5 separate regions of the Homo sapiens genome follow, and all the other regions are linked to region 1. The links are contacts of gene promoters, found by promoter capture Hi-C in blood cells and fetal thymus (Javierre and others, 2016). All regions are on one chromosome and are shown on one strand. The core of a region is centred on a gene start or on the middle of the fragment in contact, and the rest is flanking DNA. Distances in the headings are between cores, read along the strand shown.

Region 1 (2,700 bases), core at 39-2,538:
GACCCTCATCTCCCTCCCAAACCTGCCACTTGATTCTGGCTCCCTGGGCCAATTGCCCCCAATTCTGCCCCCGCCCCCATCATCCTCTATCTCTTCCTTCCCTAGTGTCCCCTATCTCACTCAAGCTCACCCCATTTCTGCCTGGCTGTCCCCACTCTCCATCCCCAAATCATCATTCAAAACTCTCTGTTCCCCCAGCTCCGGACAGCCCCTGACTCCATGCCTTCTCCCGACTCATCCGCTGTCCCTTGTCCCAGGGGTTCCCCTCCCTCCTAACACACACACACCGGCTCAGGGAGGGAGAGGAAATGGTGCACCAGGAGAGAGAAAAGGCAAAAGGTCATAGGCAGTCGGGTGGGCGGGGAGGAAGGAAAGTGAAAGGTGACAGGAGAGCTGGGAGCTGTCCCGACATGTCCTGGTTTGCCCCTCCCCCAGGGGGGCCTGTTCTCCCGACTCCCCCCAGGCCCCCTTAGACGCTTTTCCAGGGCTCTGCAGAAGGGCACCTGAAGATGGTGGGGGCCGGGGTCAGCGGGCGAGTGAGGCTGGAGACCTCCCCCGGATCCCCCATGCTGGAACAGCGGGGACAGGGGCCTCCTCAAGTTCACTTCTCCTGGGTCCCCTGTTCGTCCCAGCATCCCAAGGCAGTGCTGAGGCCCCGGGGTGGCTGCGGGAGGGGGGCCACACCCCTATATCTCACCTAGCGCAGACCACACGCTTCCAGACACCAGCAGATGGAGGCGGCACCTGCTCCCGTCCCAGGCCGGAGTTTGCAAGCTGCTCGCCGCCCGCGCCCCTCCCTGGGAGCAGCCCGGGACCGCGGTTGGAAAGGAGAAAGCGGAAAGAAAGAAAGAAAAGAAAAAGAGAGAGGGAGAGTGAATCTGGGAGAAAGCGCAGAGGGAAGAGCAGCCAGCGAGTGTCCGGAGCGAGGAGGAGGAGGAGGAGAAGGAGAGGGGGAAGAAGAGGAGGAGGAGGAAGGCTCGGCGCCCCCTCCCTCGCCGCCAACCTGCCGCGGGGCGTGCGGTGCTTGGGACCATGTGCCCGCGCTCGCTCCGGGCCGCCACCCAGCGCCTCCGGTGGCTGCGCGGGCGCCCCAAGTGTTCGTGTGTCTGCGGCGGGTGGGCGTCCGGCTCGCGCTGCCAAGCGCCCCAAGTTGCCGCCGCGCCCCGCAGCGGGGACGCGAAGCCGGCGCGGGGCGGGTGTATTTACCTGCCGCCAAGACCTTCATTATGGGCTGCACTTCAGAGGGCCTTGGAGGAAACCTCAGATGCCGGCAGTTTTCAGAGGTTCATGCTCAAATGGGGAATTTGCCTGATTTATATACTGGAGCCTGTGTTGTAAGACAGAAACAGCTATATTTAGCCGGGATCCCCAGTCCAGGAAGTTGTTTGAGGTGCATCATAGGAAATTATGAATGGAAGAAAGTGAGAGTGAAGGGGGGGGACGAGTGAGGGGGGAGGGTGGGGAGAACAGACTTTTTCCCTCTTCTAAGAATTTGATTGATAAAATTATAATGAAGCCTTCGACAAAACGCCCTGTGGTTTTCCTGCCTGGCTTGTCCCGGGAGTTGTCTGAAGATGGGCATCGCCAGGAGGGGGCCCCTGGCCGAGTCAGCAGGGGTCCCAGCAGTGGGCGCCCCAGACGGCCCTGACTCACCTGGGTTTGGGGAGGTAGCGAGTCTGGACTAGCAGATGGAGACTGGCCCCTGTGCCCCCTGGTTGGGGGGCTTTAGGGGGGCAGTGGGAGGAGGAGGGCTAGGGCTTGGCTGAGAAGGAGGCTCCAGGAGGAGGGGCCGGGGCCGGCGTGGACTTTAGACGGTCATAAAGTGGAACTGAACATGGGCGCTGGAAGCCACCCCAGAGGTAGCCTCCTCCAATCTGCACATTGCCACTGGGCCCCAAGGGGCTCCGAGGGGAACACGTTGCCCAGGGCCCCAGAGGGTCAGGCCTCCAGACACCACCAGTGCACTCGCCCTGCTGACCACTGTACCTGTGAGGCTGGGGAAGGGGCTAGGAAGACATGGGGGTAGGGGTGACTGACTCAGTTCTGTCGGGACACTCTGGGAAGGTGCTTCTGGGAAGGCGGTCCAGCATTTCCATTCTGAAGCAGGACTGAGAGAGGCTTGGCGAAATCGTACCCCAGTTTCCTCCTCCGGGTGCTGATTGATGGTTGGGGAAACTGAGAAGTGGCTGGTCCCTTCCAGACCTGCCTTGGAAGCCCCTTTGAGCCCAGCCTCAGAGAATGATGGAGGTCCCCAAAAAGTGCTTCTAGAGGCTCTAAGGCAGTGTCACATGTTCTGGCGTCTTCTGAGGCCAGGCGATTTGTGAATGAGGAAGGGCAGAAAGGAGCAGTGGGGAGCCGGGCAAAATGAGCACAGGGACACCTCCAAGAAATGCAACAGAAAAGTGAAAATAAATACACCCTATGAGATGCGGGAATGCCGGCCAGACAGCATGGCCACGCGTCTGGGGCCATGCCGTCCCTAAAGCTGCCAGGGGACCCCCAGTACCAGGAGATGATTTAGTCCCCTGTGGCCCCTTCCCAGCCCTTCCGCCTGACCCTGACCTGAGATCAAGGTGTGTGAGTTGGTTTTCCAAGGCCAGGGAGCTCTTGCAGCCTCGCCCGGGCCCCCACCGCCCCCTCGCCCATCCTCCATGCCCCCAGTTCCTGCCTCTTGCCACATCCCAGACCTGCCCAGCCACG
Region 2 (2,700 bases), core at 92-2,591, 93 kb before region 1:
ATCCTCCCACCTCACCCTCTCAAAGTGTTGGGATTACAAGTGTGAACCATCACACCCAACCTTGATCTTTTTTATATTGATGATATACTCATTTTAAAACAGTCCTTCTTATTTCTATGATATACTTCTCATTCTTTTTCCATCTGTTCTCATCTTTTTTCCATCCACTTCCCTCTTTTGCTTTTGTTCTTTCTTCCACCTCTAATTGTGGGCATCCCCAAACATCCCCCAAAATCTTTGATCATATGCTCTTCTAGCTCTATGTGCTTTCCTTTGGAAGATTCATCCATTCTCAGGGTTTCAAGCATCACGTGTATGCTGTCGACTTCCATATGTGTTATCTTGAGCCCTGATCATCCCCAAGAGCTCCAGTTCTATATCTTTAACCTTCTTTCGGGCATTTGTGCTTTGAGTTAACACTGTCATGTCAAATCCAGTATGCTCGTCTTTTTATTCACCACTGCCTTCCCTTTTCCACACATAGAACAAGTTTCTCTACCCAGTTTCCCCCCATCTCAGCACCACCTTTATCTCAGTGTCTTAAGTTCAGAATCTTGAAATCATTCTCCTGCATTATCCTCATTTAGTCAAGTATCAGAATTCCCCTAAGCCTTCCCTTTCCAGCCTGTTCTTACTGCCAAAACTCAAGTCCAGACCTTCATCCTCTCCTATCTGAATTACTACCACAGCCTTGAGGCTCTCCCACAGCCTCCTGGATCCTAGATACCACTGCCATCTACTGTTATTTAAATATGACTTTTATTCTATCGCTTCCCTAATCAAAAATATCTCATGAGTCTTATTTCCAGCATCAAGTCTAAACACCTTTTCTTGGCTTTCGGGCTGCTTGTAGCCTGGCTCCACCTTATCTGTCTTATTACCCAACATCTTCCCCTTCCTTGAGTTAGGTCAGTTTTCTCACTGTCACAAGAACTGGCCAAGTTCATTTCTTCCCCCATATCTTAACAAGTGTATTTTCTCTTGTCCAGAATGCCTTTCTTTCCATTGGCCCAAATCATATCCATTTTGCAAGAGAATTGTCTATGCTTCCTGTGTCCAATTCCCTGCTTTCTGTTCTCTTTAACCCACTTTAATCAAGCTTTTATCACCACCACTTTACTATTCAAGCCATAATTCTTATCACTTTCCTATCATTAGTCACTTTCTCAGTCTTTCCCATCTCAGTAAACGACACTATCATTTACTTAGTTGCTTCAAACCTAAAAGCCATCTTTAGTTCTTCTCCCTCAAAACCTATATCCAGTCCATCAGTGAGTCTAGTGAGCTTTCCATTCAAAATATATTTCAAATCTGGCCACTTCTCACTATCTCACTGCTACCACTCTGGCCCAAGCAAACAGTACCTCTCCAGTGGTCTCCTTGCTTTCATTTTTGCCCTTGCACAGTTTATTTCACCAAAGCATCTCTAAAGATGTCAATCTATTCATGTCACTTCACTGTTTATGGCTTTTAAGGCCATACCTGATCTGCTCTAGCCCAAGGCTCTGACCTTACCTTCTTTCAATTTCCCCTTACTTCCTCGTCTCTATTTTCTCTGGCCTTCTTTCTGTTTCTACAAAAAGCTAAGCTTTTTGACACCTCACTTACACATGGACACATTTCAGAATAGTCACTAGATAGGTTAGAAAAGAATAAGTGTTTTCAGTTTCCACAATATTTGTCACTAAAATATGTATTGTATTAACAGGAAAAACTTATTTCTAAAATCTACATTTTTGTATAAGTTTATTTTTATTTTGAAATAATCTCAAGCTTACAGAAAACCTGCAAGTACACACAAATCATGTTTTATTTTCTGAGCCATTTGCTTTATCACTCCTGTATACTGTACTATGTAATTCCTATAGGCAAGGATATTCTCCTATATATTCACAATATAACCATCAAAACTGAGGAATCAGCTTTGATTCATTACTGTCATCTAACCCTCAGATTCCTTTCAAGTTTTTCCAGTTGTCCCAGTAATATCCATTATGGCAAAAGGATCCAGGTTAGAATCATGTGTTGTATTTAGTTAAATTTCTTTAGCTTCCCTTAGCTTGGAACAGGTCCTCAGTCCTTCCTTGACTTTCATGACCTTGACATGTTTTAATAGAACAGGCCACTTATTTTTTAGAATGTCCTTCAATTTGCATTTGTCTGATGTTTCCTCAAGATTAGATTCAGGGTATGCATCTTTTTAAAGAATAACATAGGGCTGGGCATGGTGGATTATGCTTGTTATCCCAGCACTTTTGGAAACTGAGGCAGAAGGATCACCTGAGGCCAGGAGTTCAAGACCAGCCCGGGTCACACAGCAAGACCTGCATCTCCTAAAACTTTTTAAAAAGTTAGCTGGGTGTGGTGGCACGTGTCTGTAGTCCTAGTTACTCCAGAGGCTGAGGCAAGAGGATCACTTGAACCCAACAGTTTTAAGGTTGCAGTGAGAGCTATGTTCACACCACTACACTCCAGCCTGGGTGACAAAGTGAGACCTTGCTTTTTTTAAAAAAAAAAAAAAAAGAAAGAAAGAAAGAAGGAATATCACAGAATTGGTGCTGAGTAATCTTTACTTCCTTCAGGTGGCACATGATTTTGATTTGTCCCATTTCAATTATGTTTTATTTGGTCACTTGATTAAGGTGGTGTCTGCCAGCCTTCTCCACTGTAAAGTTATTTTCCCCTTTGTAATTAATAAGT
Region 3 (2,700 bases), core at 12-2,511, 110 kb before region 1:
GTGTTTTCTTTTCTTCTTCTTTTTTTTTTTCCACAAATAGGGCTTTTAATTTGACACTATTAAAAGTCTGAATGTTAAACAGATTCGTGGACCGATGGTTCATATCCATCAGCTCATTCAATTTTAGCACCTTTCTCATCCTTGGTAGCTTTTTCAAAACTACTACCTTCACCATGAAGCTACATGAGTTTTCCCAATTCAAACTTGGGCTTCTTTATTTTTACTTTCCTAATGAAGACACCATGGAGAGGATAAACAGATAGGCAAGCCTTTTCTATGTCTTTTCCAGTGCTGTCTGGAATCAATTTATTGACCACTTCTTTCAAGTCATTTGTCTGCACCTCTTGGGTCATGATTTCCATCATCTTCTTCTGGATTTGGCAGACCTGTTAGTGTCAATTGTAAGAAGTCTTCCATGTGTAATTGTTGCATTTTTTAGTAAAATCAACACAAAACAGACAAAGTAAATAATCATTGATAGTCTTGACATCAATGTGAACTTAAATCATGGTCTGCTATTTTTTAGCCATGGAACACATTTTGTCACAGATAAGATCCATGCCATGGAAATTAATCAGGCATTTTTGCCCTGAACATCTTCAGTATCAGCTTGAATTTTCTAAATGCAACTTCATCATTCTGCACATCAGACAAACTCACTTCAAACACATGACCCTTGAGGCCATCAGATGCAATTTTGATTCCTTGAGTCCTGGCGATGAGTGTCTTTCCCATAGTTATTATACTGAACATAGCAGGTGCTTTCACATCATACCAATCTTTCTTAGAAAATGGGTCAAGGTATTTGAGCCCAGGAGGTCAAGGCTGCAGTGAGCTGTTGATCACACCACTGCACTGCAACCAGGGCTACAGAGCAAGACCCTGTTTCAAAAAAGGAAGGAAGGAAGGGAGGGAGGGAGGGAGGGGGAATGGAAAGAAGGAAAGGAAGAGACAGAGAGAAATAAAAAATGAAAGAAAGAAAAGAAGGAGGGAGAGAAAGAAAGAAATAAAATGGATCAACCACTTTCTTCTTGGCTTGCTTTTGCCACCTTTCATAAAGTGCTTGTTCTTGCCAACTACCATGTGCTTTTCAGCCAAAAGGGCAGCATCATGTTTTCAAAGTTCATCCATGTATGGCATGTGTCATTACTTCATCCCTTTTTATGGCTGAATAATACTCCATTGTACGGATACACCACATTTTGTCTATCCATGTATTAGTGATGGGCATTTGGGTTCTTTCAACCTTTTGGCTATTGTGAATAATGCTGCTATAAACATTTGTATATAAGTTCTTTTTGAGTATCTATTTTTAATTTTCTTGGATATATACCTAGGAATAGAATTGCTGGGTCATATGTGTTTAATCATTTGGAGAACTCCAAAATTCTTCCAAAGTGGCTGTACCATTTTACATTCCCAACATCAGTGTATGAGGGTTCCAATTTCTCCACATCCTTACCAGCACTTGGTATTGTCTCACTTTTTGATTCTAGCCATCCTAGTGGGTGCAAAGTAAGTGGTACCTCATTGTGGTTTTAATTTGTATTTCTCTAATGACTAATGATGTCAAGCATCTTTTCATGTGCTTCTTATCCATTTATATATATTCCTTGGAGACATGTATATTCGGATCTTTTGCCCATTTTTTTTTTTTTTGAGACAGAGTCTTGCTCTGTTGCCTAGGCAACAGAGAAGCTGGGACCATAGGTGTGCACCGCCATGCCTGGGTAATTTTTAAAATATTTTTGTGGAGATGGGGTCTCGCCATGTTTCCTGGGCTGGTCTCGAACTCCTGGAGTCAAGCATTCCTCTCACCTTGGCCCCCTAAAATGCAAGAATTACAGGTATGAGCCTCTGCATCCAGCTTCCTTTGCCCATTTTAAAAACGGTCATTTGTCCTTTTATTACTGAGGTGTAAGAGTTCTTTATATATTCTGGGTAGATTCCTTACCAGATATACAATTTATAAATATTGTCTTCCATTCCATTTTCATTTATTTGGATTTTCTTTAATTTCTTTCAGCCATGTTTTGTGGTTTTTAGATTATAAATTTTGTATTTATTTTGTTAAATTTATTCATGAGCATTCTTTTCATACTGTTCATAATAGTATGTGAATAGTATGTGAACTGCACAATAGCATGAAAAGAATAAAATACTTGGGAATAAATTTTCATCTTTGTATTATTCATTGCAGGTATATAGAAATACTTTTGAATTTTGTATACTGATTTTGTATTCTACAACCTTGGTAGGATAGTTAATTTTATGTGTCAACTTGGAGGGTGCTACTGGATGAAATTAACATTTAAATCAGTAAACTTTAAGTTAAGCAGGTTGCTTTGAGTAAAGTAAAACTAACACTCCATGATGTGTGTGGATCTCATTGAATTTGTTGAAGGCCTGAATAGAACAAAAAGACTGGCCTCCCTGAGCGGGAGGGAATGCTCCAGCAGATTGCCTTAGACTTCATCTGCACCATTGACTCTCCTGGGTCTCTAGCCTGTTGGCCTTCAGACTGGAACCGCATCATCAACTTTCCTGGGTCTCATGCCTGCTGGTTCACACTGTAGATATTGGACTTGCCAGCCTCCATAATTGGATAAGCCAATTCTTTATAATAAATGTGTTTATATATATATATGAACTGTACTATATATATATATATATATATATATATATATATCCTCTGTCTCT
Region 4 (2,700 bases), core at 190-2,689, 130 kb before region 1:
TTTTCTAAATTCTTTTTTTTCTTTATTTCCTTTGGTTTTTGTAGAAGGTGACTGAGATGTACCAGTTCAAATTCAAATACACGAAAGAAGGAGCCACTATGGATTTTGACAGGTAGAATCTAACTGCTTAATGAACATGAGAAATAAATAGGATTGAGGTAAACATAAGCTTCTTGAGGCCAGAGAAAGGCCTTATACTTCTTTACACATTTCCCCACAAACCCTACAGAAAACCACTATTATAAAAAGGGGCTGCAACAATTGTTTACATTCCTGAAATCCATGGATTAAGCTGGTGGGAATAGAGAAAATGGCATGCAGCACAAAGGTAGAAATTATGTCAATAAGGTTGCCTACACGCTATTGATTGAATAACTCCATAAGGCTCTGTCTAGCCATTAATTCAAAGTTTCTCAACTGCTATGCCTAGATAGCGATCCTTTCCACCTCGATATAGCCAGCCTGTGCCTAGGGTAGATAATACCCTTGGACTATTTGCCCGTATGCACAAATATTCTCATTTGCTTACCCCAGTATGTCATATAAATATCATTTCCTTGTGTCCTTGTATGAAAAGATTAGAAAGCACTGCAGTTTCCTTATGAAGTCGAAAATTCCAAGTTTTAGGTTACTAATGGGTTAAATAGCAAACACAAGGACATTGAAGAGCAACGTTTATTTTTCTCCCAGTAGCTTTTGGATTCAGACCTGCCAGGGGGGATGGAGAGCTAAGTATTGCTGATGAGATGGCACAGTAGTGGAAGGTACAGATGATGGTGAAAAGCTCTGGATAGTAGAGGAATCCAAGTAAGGGGGATGGATGCCCTTGAAAGGAAAGACTGATGAGAGACATGGCCTAATTTTCAATTTTCCCTACTATTAGCTCTGGCTCATCATTTGCCATGAGCTTGAGGACTTTTCTCCAAGATTCACTCCCTTGATTATCCTTCCATTTGTAAAACCTACAGACAGCACTAGAATGTGAAGAGAAAATCAGTTCCAAAAATGAGAATTAAAATATTACCTTTTATTAGCTAACATTTGTATAATACTTTACAGCTTATACAGCAGCACTTTTCATACACGTTTTCTCACATAAAAAGTTACCTTTACTCTCCAAAACTCAAAAATATACACTGATGGCCAGATTAAACTCTTTTGTTCTGAAGGCACATATGCCAAGAGGTAAGCTGTAAAACAAAAATGGCCAAATCTTTCACATGCTAAGGAGAGAAGGTGATGCATATTATTAATTTCCTAGAGAAGAAATATAGGCATTTGTTTAAATGGGAGTCCTGAATATGATTTTACTGATGTGTCCTGGAGGCTCCCATGAGCTACATATCTATAGCCCTTCATTCTGGTTACCTACATTTGAATTGGTTAAATCCTGGTTGGCAGAATTTTAAGTTGTTCAAAATTGGAAAAGGAGCTAATGTATTCACTTAATAAATGTTTGCTTCATGAATTCACACTGTCTCCAAAGATCAGTTAGGGAAAAATCCAACATTTCAATTACTTAGGGTTATTTTTCATATTAAGAGCTAACTATGTGCACAGCCATGTGTAAATATATTATAGTCATGGTCCCTCCTGGAAACTACTCAAATGTGAGACTAATTGTGGAAGGAAACTTTGGAGATAAATGAACAAAGTTTAGAATTGGAAGGTAATTTAGTCCAAATTGTTCATTCATTCATTAATTCAACAAATGTTGATTGAATAGCTGGGCACCAAACTCTGTACTGTGGAGATGAAAGATATAGCCACTCACAGTCTAGAGAAGGACAAATAGTTATCCTGAGGATGAGATGAGGGTATTATCAGAGAAGACTTCTTTGAAGAGTCTGCGCATGAGCTAGGTATTAGAGGATAAATTTAGGACAGTCAGGAAGAAAAGTGGAAAAGCACAGTACAAGCAAAGTGAACAGCATATGCAAATACTTTGAGTGAGAGGAAACTGGGCAATAGCTGCAGATGAGGATGGAGGTGAGGATATGACGGGTTGTGAAAGGAATTGTATACACACTGTCTTTGAATTTGATTGAAAACTGATGGATATAATAGAAGAATTCTAAGTAAGAAGGTGACATGAACAGATTTTCCTATTAGTAATATTATTTCAGCGGTGATATGGAGAATATTTTGTAGTGTGGACAAGAAGGAAAGCAGGAAAAATAGTTAGATAGCCACTGTAGTAATCAATGCAAGAGTGAGGAAGGGATACTTTTGCGAGATAATCAGACGGTAGAAAGTCCCAGAGCTGGTGATTGATTTTATGCTTGAGAGTTGTAGAAATGTCTTTACGCTTATCTCACAAATGAGCTAACTGACCTAGAGTGTGTCTAAATGACTTGACCAAGGTCATTCAGCTAGTTATCAGCAGAGCTGATATTAGATGCCAGGTCACCTAATTCCAAATTCGTTGTTCTTACTGTTGTGGTATATGATTTTTTTCAAATCAAATTTTTAAAAAGATCGTATTTTAAATGCTTTTAGGGAATTTGCTACTTAAGAAATTCTTTGTATATACATTGCAAAAAGTACCATCGCTCCCCTAATTTACATTCTAAAAAAGTCTCAAAATATACTAATGTTTAATTTATATTTACTCACATAGTCAAAAGTTTTGTTCCTTTTGGGATAGATTGCCACTATTGTATATGATCAAAAAGTATGCTTTTTTTTCTGTGTAGTCAT
Region 5 (2,700 bases), core at 85-2,584, 80 kb after region 1:
GGACCGCCAGCCTGTACACATGATCTCTGAGGCCTGGGCTCGGGGGATTCTGTGGGGCAACATGGGGCCCAGCTTGGAGGCAAGGTGCTGTTCCACTGCCCCACATTTCTCTGTCTGCTAGCTGGGTGTCTGGGTGCTCTCGGGATAGGACATCGGGGGGTGCTAATATGAGCAGGGACCCTGCTGTCTCCCTGCCTGCCCCCGTCCCACGCCCAAGATCTGCCCTTGGGAGGAGGCGCATACATACACAGGACATACACAGAGCCCATCTACTGGCTCCTGTGGCTGCTGGAGCTGATGGTCTGTCCTAGTGGTGGGGCTCCCTGTCGCCCTGTACGTGCTGGGAAGGGGGAGTACCTGCCCACCTGTTGCCAGTGCCAGTGGAGGAAGCTGTGTATGAGCGGATAGGGGGCCCTTCTCCGACCCTTCCATGAGGAGAAGGGACTGTCTGTCCCAGGATGGAGCTGAGGGGAGGGAGGTGACCAATGTCTGTCCATCCAGAGGTCTGTATGCCTCGAGGAAAGGGTCAGTCTGTCCTGGGAAGGGGTGGGGGCGGGGCAGTCAGTCCTGAAGTCGGTCTGAGGTCTCCTGGTGTGGGGGCAGTGAGGCGGGGAGACAAGGGCGTCTGTGGGTTTGTGGGAGGGGGAAAGATGGAGAATGAGTGTCTATGGAGGGGGGCGCCAGCCATCTGGGAGCCTGTCGGGGTGGCAGAAACAATCATCCCTAAGGTCTTGGCGGCAGGGGTGGGTTTGGGGCAGTCTGTCATTCTGTTCCACGGCTGGAAGGAGGGCACAGTCGGTCCTTCCTGGGAGCGGGTCAGTCTGTCCGGAGGGTGGAGGTGGCGGGTGGAGGTGTGGGCCCGTCCGCCCCCTGGGTCGGAAGTAGGACTGCGAAGGGGGCGGGTCTAGGAAGGCAGGGGTGGTGGGGGTGGGGCAGGGGAGGGAACGGGGATTAGTGGTCCCTGCCTGGGAGGGGGACGTGTCGGCAAGTCCCGAGGGCGCCTCCGTCCGTGTCGAGGCCCCTCGCGTGGGTGGCGCGCTCAGTCCCGACCCCCGGCGCTACTCACGCGCCCTCGGCGCCCTGCGAGCCCACGATGAAGCCGAACTTGTCGATGCGGCGCTCGGCGAAGCCGTTGGCCTCCGAGTCAGACCCGAGAGAGCTGAGTTCGTCGGTGGTTGCGGCGTCGGGGCCCTGGGCCAGGCTCTCCCGGGTTCCCGACAGGCTTTCCCCGGCCGCGGGCGCGCGCGGCCCATTCTCTCCGTTGCTCTTCGCCATCCCAGCCGCGCCCGCCGCCTGAGCTCCAGCGGCCACCTCAGCCGCCCTGCTGCCGCCGACGCCCCGCCCACGCGCGGCGCCTATTGGCCGCCGCAAGGCCGGGGGGCGGGGCTCCAGGCCCACCCCGGAGCTCTCCCCCCACGCCCAATGGGCGCCGCGGACCCCGGGCCCCGCCCACCCTCCCCCGGCGGGCGCCAACAAGCCCGAAGTGAGGGGGCGGGGCAGCCGTCACCGCAGCCCTCCCCGCCCTCCTCCGGGCTGCCAATCACAAGAACTCACCTGGACGAGCTCGGGCCTTTCCGGGTTGGCTCCAAGCGGGGCCTGTCACCTACTGCAGAGCGCGAGCCGGAGGCCCAGGGCTTCCTCCATGGATTCCTCATCTGCCTCCTGAGCCCCGCTCCCTGCGAGACCCCAAGGACGTGGTAGGGATTGTTTGCCCCATTCATTTATGAGGAACTCTGAGGAGGCCCAAGTGAGTTCAGGGACGCAGAGCGGCTTAAAGGCCCAGCCTGAGCCAGAAGTCTGGCAGTCCCATTGCACTCACTGCTTCTGGGGCTTTAAATTACCTCGTGAGACCTAATTATTAATAATCACCAGCGTTTACTGAGCCACGCACGCCCGAAGCTCTACCTACTTTCTCCTGTAGTCTTTTCCCCAGCAGTTTTATGGAACATAAACATACCATAAATTCACGTTTAAAGTGTACAATGATTTTTAGCATATTTACAGAGTTGTGCAGCCATCACAACATTCTAATTTTAGAACATTTTCATCACCCCAAAAAGAAACTCCTACCAATTAGCAGTCACTCCGCATCCTGGCTCCCCCAGTCCCTGGCAACCACTAATCTGCTTCCTGTTTCTATAGATGTCCCTTTTCTGGATATTTCATATAAATGGAATTATACAATATATGGCCTTTTATGTCTGGATTCTTTCTCTTGAACATTTTCAAGTTTCATCCACATTGTAGCATGTATCAGTGCTTCTGGATTCACATCTGCCCCAGGTATGTCTGACTCCACCCCTCCCTTTCCTGGGATAGGCCCACACCGCCATGAAAGACCTATACTGCCCCTCCTGGGAGCTGGGACTATACCAGATTTTGTTTTTCCATTCATCAGTGATGGTCATTCGCGTGTTTCTAGTTTTTAGCCATTATGAATAATGCTGCTCTGACCATTCAGGTACAAGCTTTTGTGTGGGGGCCTTATGTTTACATTTCTCTTGGATAGATAAGGAAGAGTGGAATTGCTGGGTCATATGGCAACTGTTTAACCTTTCGAGGAACTGGCAAACTGTTTTCCAAATTGGTTGCAACATGTCTTGTAATCTCTTAGCAATGAGGTATACACCATTATTAGTCCCATTTTACAGTTAAGGAGACTGAGGTAAAGTCAGTTGCCTAAGGTCCCAGAATTAGCTG

Evidence for each region. Contacts are between HindIII fragments. The CHiCAGO score rates a contact against its expected background, and 5 or more counts as called.
Region 2: a fragment that was not itself captured here is called in contact with the fragment with the promoter of LIF in region 1 in 1 of 17 cell types (activated CD4 T cells); the score reaches 5.9 in activated CD4 T cells.
Region 3: a fragment that was not itself captured here is called in contact with the fragment with the promoter of LIF in region 1 in 6 of 17 cell types (neutrophils, activated CD4 T cells, M2 macrophages and 3 more); the score reaches 10.1 in neutrophils.
Region 4: a fragment that was not itself captured here is called in contact with the fragment with the promoter of LIF in region 1 in 15 of 17 cell types (M2 macrophages, M0 macrophages, neutrophils and 12 more); the score reaches 19.4 in M2 macrophages.
Region 5: the fragment with the promoter of TBC1D10A here is called in contact with the fragment with the promoter of LIF in region 1 in 1 of 17 cell types (monocytes); the score reaches 7.0 in monocytes.

The regions. Positions count from the first base shown.
Region 1 is chr22:30,245,471-30,248,170 of GRCh38, forward strand. LIF (LIF interleukin 6 family cytokine) reads right to left here and starts at 1,289. Exons shown (of 3, transcript NM_002309.5): 1 at 1,207-1,289. The coding sequence starts at 1,225. It overlaps LIF-AS2 (LIF antisense RNA 2), which reads left to right and starts at 740. Exons shown (of 1, transcript NR_148946.1): 1 at 740-1,523. The HindIII fragment of the contact is 10,846 bases long and covers 1-2,700 here.
Region 2 is chr22:30,152,570-30,155,269 of GRCh38, forward strand. The region is part of intron 10 of HORMAD2 (HORMA domain containing 2); the gene reads left to right. Among named protein-coding and RNA genes, the nearest start is that of HORMAD2, 73 kb to the left of the region's middle. The HindIII fragment of the contact is 489 bases long and covers 1,098-1,586 here.
Region 3 is chr22:30,136,599-30,139,298 of GRCh38, forward strand. The region is part of intron 10 of HORMAD2 (HORMA domain containing 2); the gene reads left to right. It also overlaps the pseudogene RPS3AP51. Among named protein-coding and RNA genes, the nearest start is that of HORMAD2, 57 kb to the left of the region's middle. The HindIII fragment of the contact is 4,090 bases long and covers 1-2,700 here.
Region 4 is chr22:30,118,936-30,121,635 of GRCh38, forward strand. HORMAD2 (HORMA domain containing 2) reads left to right here. Exons shown (of 11, transcript NM_152510.4): 8 at 45-112; 9 at 2,697-2,700. Among named protein-coding and RNA genes, the nearest start is that of HORMAD2, 40 kb to the left of the region's middle. The HindIII fragment of the contact is 2,545 bases long and covers 168-2,700 here.
Region 5 is chr22:30,325,607-30,328,306 of GRCh38, forward strand. It overlaps TBC1D10A (TBC1 domain family member 10A), which reads right to left and starts at 1,335. Exons shown (of 9, transcript NM_031937.3): 1 at 1,067-1,335. The coding sequence starts at 1,275. RefSeq lists an enhancer at 1-691 and silencers at 908-957, 1,258-1,587. The HindIII fragment of the contact is 3,707 bases long and covers 1-2,466 here.